Linked DNA regions of Homo sapiens: region 2 is linked to region 1. The links are contacts of gene promoters, found by promoter capture Hi-C in human tissues and cell types (Jung and others, 2019). All regions are on one chromosome and are shown on one strand. The core of a region is centred on a gene start or on the middle of the fragment in contact, and the rest is flanking DNA. Distances in the headings are between cores, read along the strand shown.

What was found. Contacts are between HindIII fragments. The study calls those that stand out against the background at their distance.
Region 2: a contact is called between a fragment that was not itself captured here and the fragment with the promoter of C20orf141 in region 1, in 2 of the 25 tissues and cell types used here (IMR-90 fibroblasts and lymphoblastoid cells).

Annotation. Positions count from the first base shown.
Region 1 is chr20:2,812,453-2,816,813 of GRCh38, reverse strand. C20orf141 (chromosome 20 open reading frame 141) reads right to left here and starts at 1,827. Exons shown (of 3, transcript NM_001256538.2): 1 at 1,797-1,827; 2 at 1,370-1,662; 3 at 984-1,276. The coding sequence starts at 1,629. The coding sequence ends at 1,039. TMEM239 (transmembrane protein 239) reads right to left here and starts at 450. Exons shown (of 2, transcript NM_001167670.3): 1 at 399-450; 2 at 1-270. The coding sequence starts at 259. The HindIII fragment of the contact is 18,533 bases long and covers 1-4,361 here.
Region 2 is chr20:2,920,798-2,925,158 of GRCh38, reverse strand. It overlaps PTPRA (protein tyrosine phosphatase receptor type A), which reads right to left. Exons shown (of 24, transcript NM_001385305.1): 2 at 1,874-1,952. Among named protein-coding and RNA genes, the nearest start is that of PTPRA, 49 kb to the right of the region's middle. RefSeq lists an enhancer at 1,930-2,430. The HindIII fragment of the contact is 5,316 bases long and covers 1-4,361 here.

The DNA.
Region 1 (4,361 bases), core at 578-3,077:
GGGAGCCAGTGGTGAAGAGTGCATGGCACAACATCAGTGCCAGCAGCAGGTAGAGTATCCCCTCCAGACCCCACAGCAGGCGCTGCAGCGGTTGCCGCCAGTTCGAGGTGCTCCACCACTGGATCCAGCTCGGGGGCATGTGGCTCACCCACCAGCGCACCCAGCCATGCCTCGTGACCCAGGCTGACCAGGGCACTGCCTGCTGTGGCCCCTCGCCAGCCCCGATGGTATCTGTCTCCACTCGCGGCTGCTGCATCATGTCTGGTGCACCTGGGGAGAGGGCCAGGGTCTTGAAGATGCCTGGGACCTTGGGGGGGGGGGGCAGAGAGGGGGTGCAGGGGTCAGGAGGGCACCAGTGTGCGTGGGGTGGGGCTACAGAATTAGGGACTGGGACTTACCTCTGGGCAGTTACCTAAGTCATGTTGCTTCCTGCAGCGCCCAGGACGGCCTGGCAGGCAGATCCAAGTCCCCACTCTCATCTACCCCCACCCTCCCCAGAGGAGCCCCTTTGTGACCCGGGCTGGGGTGGGGTCCAGCCAAGAGAGGAGTCACTGTAGGGTGTGAGGCCCACCCAAGTCCCTCTGCACGGACCCTCCAGGCTGGCAGGGGAGCCTCGGAGCCCCGCAGATGTAGTTTCTCATGCTTTCTCATGGGAAGCCCTCCCTGGATCCCTGTCCCTTTCCTGCTTTCCCTGCTGGCTGATATCCACCCCTTTCCAAACTGCTCTCTCGCAAGTCTTTCTGTCTGGACCTTCATTCTCTAGAGCCACAGAGGAGGCCAGAGTGGCTGCCCCCAATCCACAGGCTCTGAGGTGGCTGCCACATTCTTCCTTGGGCTCCCTGGCTAGTATCCTACCTTCTCTTGCTGCCCAAAGACTCAGATCCAGGTATCTGATACCTATATTATAGGACTGTGAGGTTCAGGCTGGGAAGAAAGGGGTATCATCCCACCTGCCCAGCCAGGAAGGAGAAAAGGGGGCCTGATGAAGAAGGGTGGTCATTGTATATTTGAAGGACACTGAGTTGTGGGGAGGGGCTCTCAGGCCCAAGGATGGAGGCAGAAAGCCAGGCCAAGCAGGGTCAAGGGCATGCCACAGGCTCTCAGGAGCGGGCCCAGCCCCATGAGCAGCAGCAGCAGTGCGTCCTGGAGGCTAAGTTGTCCTGAGACTGTACCCATTTGCAGGAGTAGAGCCTCCTGCTGTCCAGGACCTTCACCGGCCCCCTGACTCTGGCCCCTGGTGAGAAGTTTGCGCTGTGGCAGAGTGTGACCTGCGGGCCTGTGGAGAGAGAGGGTGGTGACTGGGCTTAGGGAAGTTGTCCACTGGCCCGCCCGCCTACAATGCCCACCTGCCAGGCTGCTGCCCACTTACCTATGGAGCAGGTCAAAGGTGAGGAAGCTGACCAGAAGCAGCAGCAGGGCTGGGCCAGTGGTGGAAAAGACTGCCTGGATTGTCAGTCCTAGTGCCCCCAGCCATAGGACACTGTCCAGGAGCTGGGCCCAGCTAGGGCCCCAGGTGGATACAGGTGGACGCACTGGACTACCTGACCCCTCCCCAGCACCCAGGCCCCTTGGAGGAACTGGGATCGGATCCTCACGTGCTTCGGGTCTGGGTAAGCAGAGCCGGGTCATGGAGAGAGGTGGAGGTGACGGGAAGACCTAGTGCTGAAAAGGATTATAAGGGTGAGAGTAGGGGAAGGGGTAGGGCCCGGGCAGACAGAAGGGTGAGCTCAGAGTGGGGAATTAGGCTCCTGCAGAGTCTCCCCCTCCCCCATACCCACCCAGCAAACCCTCCTCACCTCCTCCCACTTTGGTCAGCATTCTGGGAGTGGGCACCCGGGGCATTGTGACCTGTTACCACGTGGGGCCGTGGGGTAGGGAGGGGGCTGCTGCTGCTGCTGCTCTGACCTCATAAGCAGCTGGTGGCCTAGGTGGGGCTTAGCTGGGAAGTCAGGGATTTCTGAGAACTAAGACTCATCCTCTTGCCTTTGCTGATTCTCTGCCCTAGGGCCCTCCCTTGGGGATCTGAGTTGTCAGGAAGGCATTCTAACCCCATTACTACTTGGGCATCTGTCCAAGGGAGCGAGGTCTGCTTTCTTCTTCCTGTGAGTTTGCAGAGCTGCAGGTCCAGGGCGAAGTCATTCAATATCTCTGTCCCCAGCTGTCTTCCCTGTGGGTCCTTCTAGGGGATTTTTCAGGCCTGAAGTTCCAGATTGCAGAGATGGGCTCTGCCAGGGGACTGCCTGAGGCTTCTGGGGCTGGGCTTCCGCATAACCTGCTAAATGGGGGTGAGAGAGGAGGGGGCTGTTCAGGTATTCTAAGCACTACAGTTTATAGGGGGTGTTATGCATACTGGGGTTCCAGTAATGAGGTAGAGGACATGAACTTAAGAGGACTATGACCTAGTAACCCCCTTATTAGAGGTTAAGGTTACAGTCTGAGAATGGAGTTAAGGAAAATGAACATATAATGAAGGGCTTAGTCACTTGGATTATCAGTATATCAGATTACACTGATCATCTGTAAATGGGTGGTGGCCATAGGGGTCCAGCACATCTCAGTTTAGTGACTTGAGAGGCAAGAGCGGAAATGTGTCATAATTAAGAGAACTTAATCTTTGCCCACATATCATACTTTGAAGGAAAACTGGTAGGGGTGGCAAAATGGGAGACAGTGGCCATACAGCCCCTAGGAGAGGAGGAGACAGAACAAGAATCAGGCTGCATATCCACCTCCAGCAGGCCTTGCCCAGAGACGAGGGTCACCAGCCCTAATGACCATGCACTGATCGCCCTTGGTCTGGCTGTTCTTGCTTATCCAGCAGCTGGGTTTTACGAGTAGATTTGTCCGTAATGGGATAGGGTATAACAGAAGATCCCAGAATTTTTTTTTTTTTGGCATTAAGTTCCAATTGTGCTTGTAAAGGAACATTAAGGTTTAAGATTGGCAATTCCCTGAGCCTGATCAATCCTGGATGCATCCACACAATTGCATTCCTGGACATACAGACCTGGGGAGCATGTCCTGATGAGTCCACCAAGATGAGGCTACTCCATATTGCAGGGCATGGGGGGATCGGAGAGTCTAAAGCTCCTTAAAGATTTACTATGCACCAGGTGCTCTGTATGCATGTATAGGAGAGTTCTGTCTGTGATTTTCTCAGAGTTTATTTTGTATTCAACAATCATTTATTTAAGTGCTTCCTATGTGCCAGGCACTGCACCAGATGGTGGGTGTATTAGGCCATTCTTGCGTTGCTATGAAGAAATACCTGAGACTGGGTAATTTATAAGAAAAGAGGCTTAATTGGCTTGCAGTTTTGCAGGCTGTACAGGAAGTAGGGTACCAGCATCTGCTTTTGGGGAGACCTCAGGAAACTTCCAATCATGGCAGAAGGCAAAGGGTGAAGAGCAAGGGAGAGAGTGGTGGTTAGGGGAGTTGCCACACACTTAAACAACCAGATCTTGAGAGAACTCACTCACTATTTCAAGGACAGCACCAAGCCATGAAATATCCACCCCCATGACCCAAACACCTCCCATCAGGCCCTACCTCCAACATTGGGATTTGAGATTTCAACTTGAGATTTGGACAAATATTCAGACTATATCAATGGGTCATAATTTCTAAAAGTAGAGCCTGAGATGGGGATACTTGTACACATGGTTTATTGAGGGAGTGCTCTGAGGAGGAAAACCTTTCTTTCTATTTTTTTTTTTTTTTTTTTTTGAGACAGAGTTTCGCTCTTGTTGCCCAGGCTGGAGTGCAATGGCGCCATCTTGGCTCACTGCAACCTCCGCCTCCCGGGTTTAAGTGATTCTCCTGCTTCAGCCTCCCAAGTAACTGAGATTACAGGCACCCACCACCACACCCAGCTAATTTTTGTATTTTTAGTAGAGACAGGGTTTCACCATGTCGGCCAGGCTGGTCTCAAACTCCTGACCTCAGGTGATGTGACCGCCTCAGCCTCCCAAAGTGCTGGGATTACAGGTGTGAGCCACCCTGCCCGACCAGAAGGGAAAGATTTTTAAAAATCAAGAGACTCTTCAGAATTGAAGGACATGATTCTCTAGACCATAACTTTCCACCAATTCACAGCCCAATACATGAAACAGGGCAGCTAACATCAAGGCATATAATGAAATTCACATTAGCAGGGATAAAAAGACAATCCTAAGAGCTTCCACCAAATAAAAACATCACATACATCGGATCTGAAGCAAGAATGGTATCACACTTCTAAACACCAATACTGGTAGCTAGAAGACAATAAATGCCCTCAAAATGATGTCTAATATAGAAATGTATAGGTCTGAATGATTATTAATTGGGAGGGTAGAATAATGACATTTCAATCATACAAG
Region 2 (4,361 bases), core at 532-3,031, 110 kb before region 1:
AGTTTGGGGAGATGAAAAAGTTTTGGAGATGGACAGTGGTGATGGCTGCACAACAGGAATGTACTTAATGCCAATGAATTGTATACTTTAAAAGTAGTTAAAATGATAAATTTAATCTTATATATATTTTACCATGAGAAAAGTATGTATATGAACACATTAAGATGTAAAACCTTTTCAGGCCGGGCGCGGTGGCTCATGCCTGTAATCCCAGCACTTTGGGAGGCAGAGGCAGGCGGATCATGAGGTTGGGCAATCGAGACCATCCTGGCCAACATGGTGAAACTCTGTCTCTATTAAAAATACAAAAATTAGCTGGGCGTGGTGGCGCGTGTCTGTAATCCCAGCTACTTGGGAAGCTGAGGCAGGAGAATTGCTTGAACCCAGGAAGCGGAGGTTGCAGTGAGCTGAGATCACACCACTGCACTCCAGCCTGGTGACATAGCAAGACTCAGTCTCAAAAAACAAAACAAAACACCTTTTCGGTGCTGCAGAGGCTCTCTCATACCTCTTTCCAGTCACAACCTCCCACCTCCTGTCAGAGGAAGTAGGGATATGACCTTTATCACTGTAGTTTAGTTTTACTCGGTAATTCTGCTACATCTACTTTTTCTTGTCCATCTGGTTTCTTTCACTCAACCTTTTATCTACGAGATTCATCCATGTTGTCATGTCTACTGGTAGTTTGTTCCTTTCTATTACTGAATAAAATTCCATGTTATCAATAGTGTATGTCAATTTTTTGTTGTTGTTGATACATAGTCTCGCCCTGTTGCCCAGATTGGATGGAGTGCAGGGGCGTGATCTCACCTCACTGCAACTTCTGCCTCCTGGCTTCAAGCCATTCTCCTGTCTTAGCCTCCTGAGTAGCTGGGATTACAGGCGTGAGCCACCACACTCAGCTCATTTTTGTAATTTTAGTAGAGATGGGGTTTCACCATGTTGACCAGGCTGGTCAACTGATCTGCCCGCCTTAGCCTCCCAAGTGCTTAGATTACAGGTGTAAGCCACCACACCTGACCATATATCACAATTTGTTTAACTATTCTCCTGTTTTTGGACACCTGATTGGGTTACAGTTTTTCTGGCTATAATACATAAAGCTGCAGTGAACATTTGTATGTGCACTTTTGTGTAGACATATATTTTTCATTTCTCAAAGGTGGATACCTAGAATTGAAATTCCTGGGTTATTAGATACGTGTATGTTTTGCAGATATTGCCAAAGAGTTTTCTAAAACTATAGAGTTGGTTTACATTCCCACTTAAAAAACTTGGAGATCATCTGTGATCTACTCAAGAAGCTTTAATTCAATGCTGGCAGGGCATTAACTTTGGTCTTTTTATTTTTATTTTTTTGAGAAGGAGTTTCATTCTTTGGTGCCCAGAATGGAATGCAGTGTGCGATCTCAGCTCACTGCAACCTCTGTCTCCTGGGTTCAAGGGATCCTCCTGCTTCAGCCTCCCGAGTAGCTGGGATTACAGGCACATGCCACCACATCTGGCTAATTTTTGTATTTTTGGTAGAGATGGGGTTTCACCATGTTGGCCAGGCTGGTCTTGAACTCCTGACCTCAAGTGATCTGCCCGCCTCGGCCTCCCAAAGTGCTGGGATTACAGGCGTGATCCACCATGCCCAGCCTGACTTTGGTCTTTTTTTTTAAAAAAAAAAAGCTCTTCAAGTGATTCTGATTCATAATCAGGTTAAGAAGTATCTTAAAGGATAATTACAATGTTTATAATAATAAAAAAATAAGCTACTCTTACAGCTTAGAAACGAAATGAAGCAGGAAAGCATGTGATGTTAGCTTTATTTAAGGACACTACTTGGCTGGCAAAAGCCTCCTCACAGTTCTGGTTTTATTTCTCTTACCTTAGTTATTTGAACTGCATCATCCATTACCACTCAGTGGAATTCCATAAATACCTTTGTTTTTTTTTAGTTGTGTCACCTGCAACAAAAGGAAAAATACCTTTAGAAATATACAACATCCCTGAGCAGATTGTTCTAGCTTAGGAATTCAAGCCCAGCCTAGGCAACATGCAAAATCCCATCTCCACAAAAAGTAGCCAGGCAGGGTGGCACATGCCTATAATCCCAGCTACTTAGCAGGCTGAGGTGGGAGGACTGCTTGAGCCCAGAAGGTGGAGTTTCCAGTGAGCTGAGATTGTGCCACTGCACTCCAGCCTGGGAACAGAATGAGACCCAGTCTCAAAAGAAAATAGCCAGGAGCGGTGGCTCATGCCTGTAATCCCAGCACTTTGGGAGGCCGAGGTGGGTGGATCACTTGAGGTCAGGAGTTTGAGACCAGCCTAGCCAACATGCTGAAATCCTGCATCTACTAAAAATACAAAAATTAGCTGGGCATGGTGGCACGCATCTCTAATCTCAGCTGTTCAGGAGGCTGAGGTAGAATTGCTTGAACCCGGGAGGCAGAGGCTGCAGTGAGCCCAGATCGCGCCACTGCACTCCAGCTCAGGCGACAAAGTCAGACTCCATCTCAAAAAGAAAAATAAGGCCAGGTGCGGTGGCTCATGCCTATAATCCCAGCACTTTGGGAGGCCGAGGCAGGCGGATCACCTGAGAAGTCAGGAGTTCGAGACCAGCCTGGCCAACATGGTGAAACCCCGTCTCTACCAAAAATACAAAAATTAGCCAGGCACGGTGGTGGGTGTCTGTAATCCCAGTTACTTGGGAGGCTGAGGCAGGAGAATTGCTTGAACCCAGGAGGGGGAGGTTGCAGTGAGCCGAGATCGTGACAGTGTACTCCAGCCTGGGCAACAGAGTGAGACTCCATCTCAATCAATCAATCAATCAATCAATAAAACAGCCCTATTTAAACATTATGGATTGTTTTGGAGAGTGGAGTATATCCTAACAAGATGTTTCACAGGGGTGTGCTTAAAATTCCAGGAGCCACAGAACAAAGCTCCATCTTAAATAGTTCAGATTTCTGAATAGCTCATAGGTCTTTCCAGTAAGGGTAGTATAGAACACTCCTCCCTGTCCCAAAACTTGGACTATGCCACCATAGGGTTGTTTATATACCATTAGGCCCTTCCCTAGGGAACATATGGCAGTGTCTAAAGATAGTTTTGACTGTCACAACTAATAGCAGGGAGGCTGGGCTACTGGCATCTAGGGGATAGAGGCCTAGGATGCTGCTAAGCATCTTACAAATCACAGGACAACCCCCTATAACAAAGTATCCAGTCCCAAATGTCAACAATGCCAAGGCTGAAAATCTCTACATTGATCAAAGATCTATCTCTAGTCAATGACTGTGCAAAGTGGTAGTACAAGAGCCTAGCCATTTCTACCTCTTGTGGTATTCCTCTATCAGGCAATCTGGGTGGGCAGAGACTTCGTCAGGTGTGCACTGCAGTCTGATGGCTCCCTATACCCAAACATGTTCCGTTCCCCTTTTCTTCACAGGCATTACTCCTCTAATAAGCCCTTTGCCCCTCCAACCCCATCTGTGTCTGCTTCCTGTAGAATCCAGCTGGCACATAAATTAACATTCACGTTCACACTGAATGGAGTGCGCATTCACATTGTTGGAGAAACAAGAATCACTGGGGGGAAAAAAGAGTCCCAATAAATAAACCAAAATGTTAAAAATTCTAAACTTTTGTACTATCCAGTATTCCATAACAACCATCTATTATTTATACATAATAAAGAAAATATTAAAGTAAGACTTTATACTAGATTTTGCTCGTGAAGACATGTTCTAATGGCAGGCTAAATTGGTATACTCTGTATATACAGTGTACCCAAATTCAAGGAAGGGTGAACAACTGTTGGTGTTCTTCAAAAAAAAAAAAAAAAAAAAGCGCATTCCCAGGTACTAAGGAAATAAAAGATCAGACAATGGGCTTCACAGACATCTCGTAAGCTCAGCTTCCTCATTTGTTAAATCAAAGTTGTACTATTAATAGTTTAAACTAAAAACTTTTAGAAGAGACTACAGAGCCCATTCAGTTTGCCCTCCTGCTTTCAGAGATGAGACCAATGTCCCAGACAGAACGACAGTAACCGGGCAAGCAAAGCAGAGTTGTTGGCCTTGCTTCTCAATGCCTGGGTCCATTTCTCTTTCCAGGTACAATGTAATGCACCTAAATGAAGAAAGCACATTAAGCAAACAGTTCCAAAAAGGTTACAATATTAAGATTATTCCAAGAACTATTCAAAATCTAGCCCTTCACTCCATCATGAAAACTGAATGGTGGCATCTGATACTGCCATTCCAGGCTTTCTTTCTGAGTACTCACTCCCTCAGCACATAAATAGCCTCAAGGCTTTAACATCTTAAAAAAACCTCTCTAGAACAAACTACATTCCCAATGCCCCCCATCCC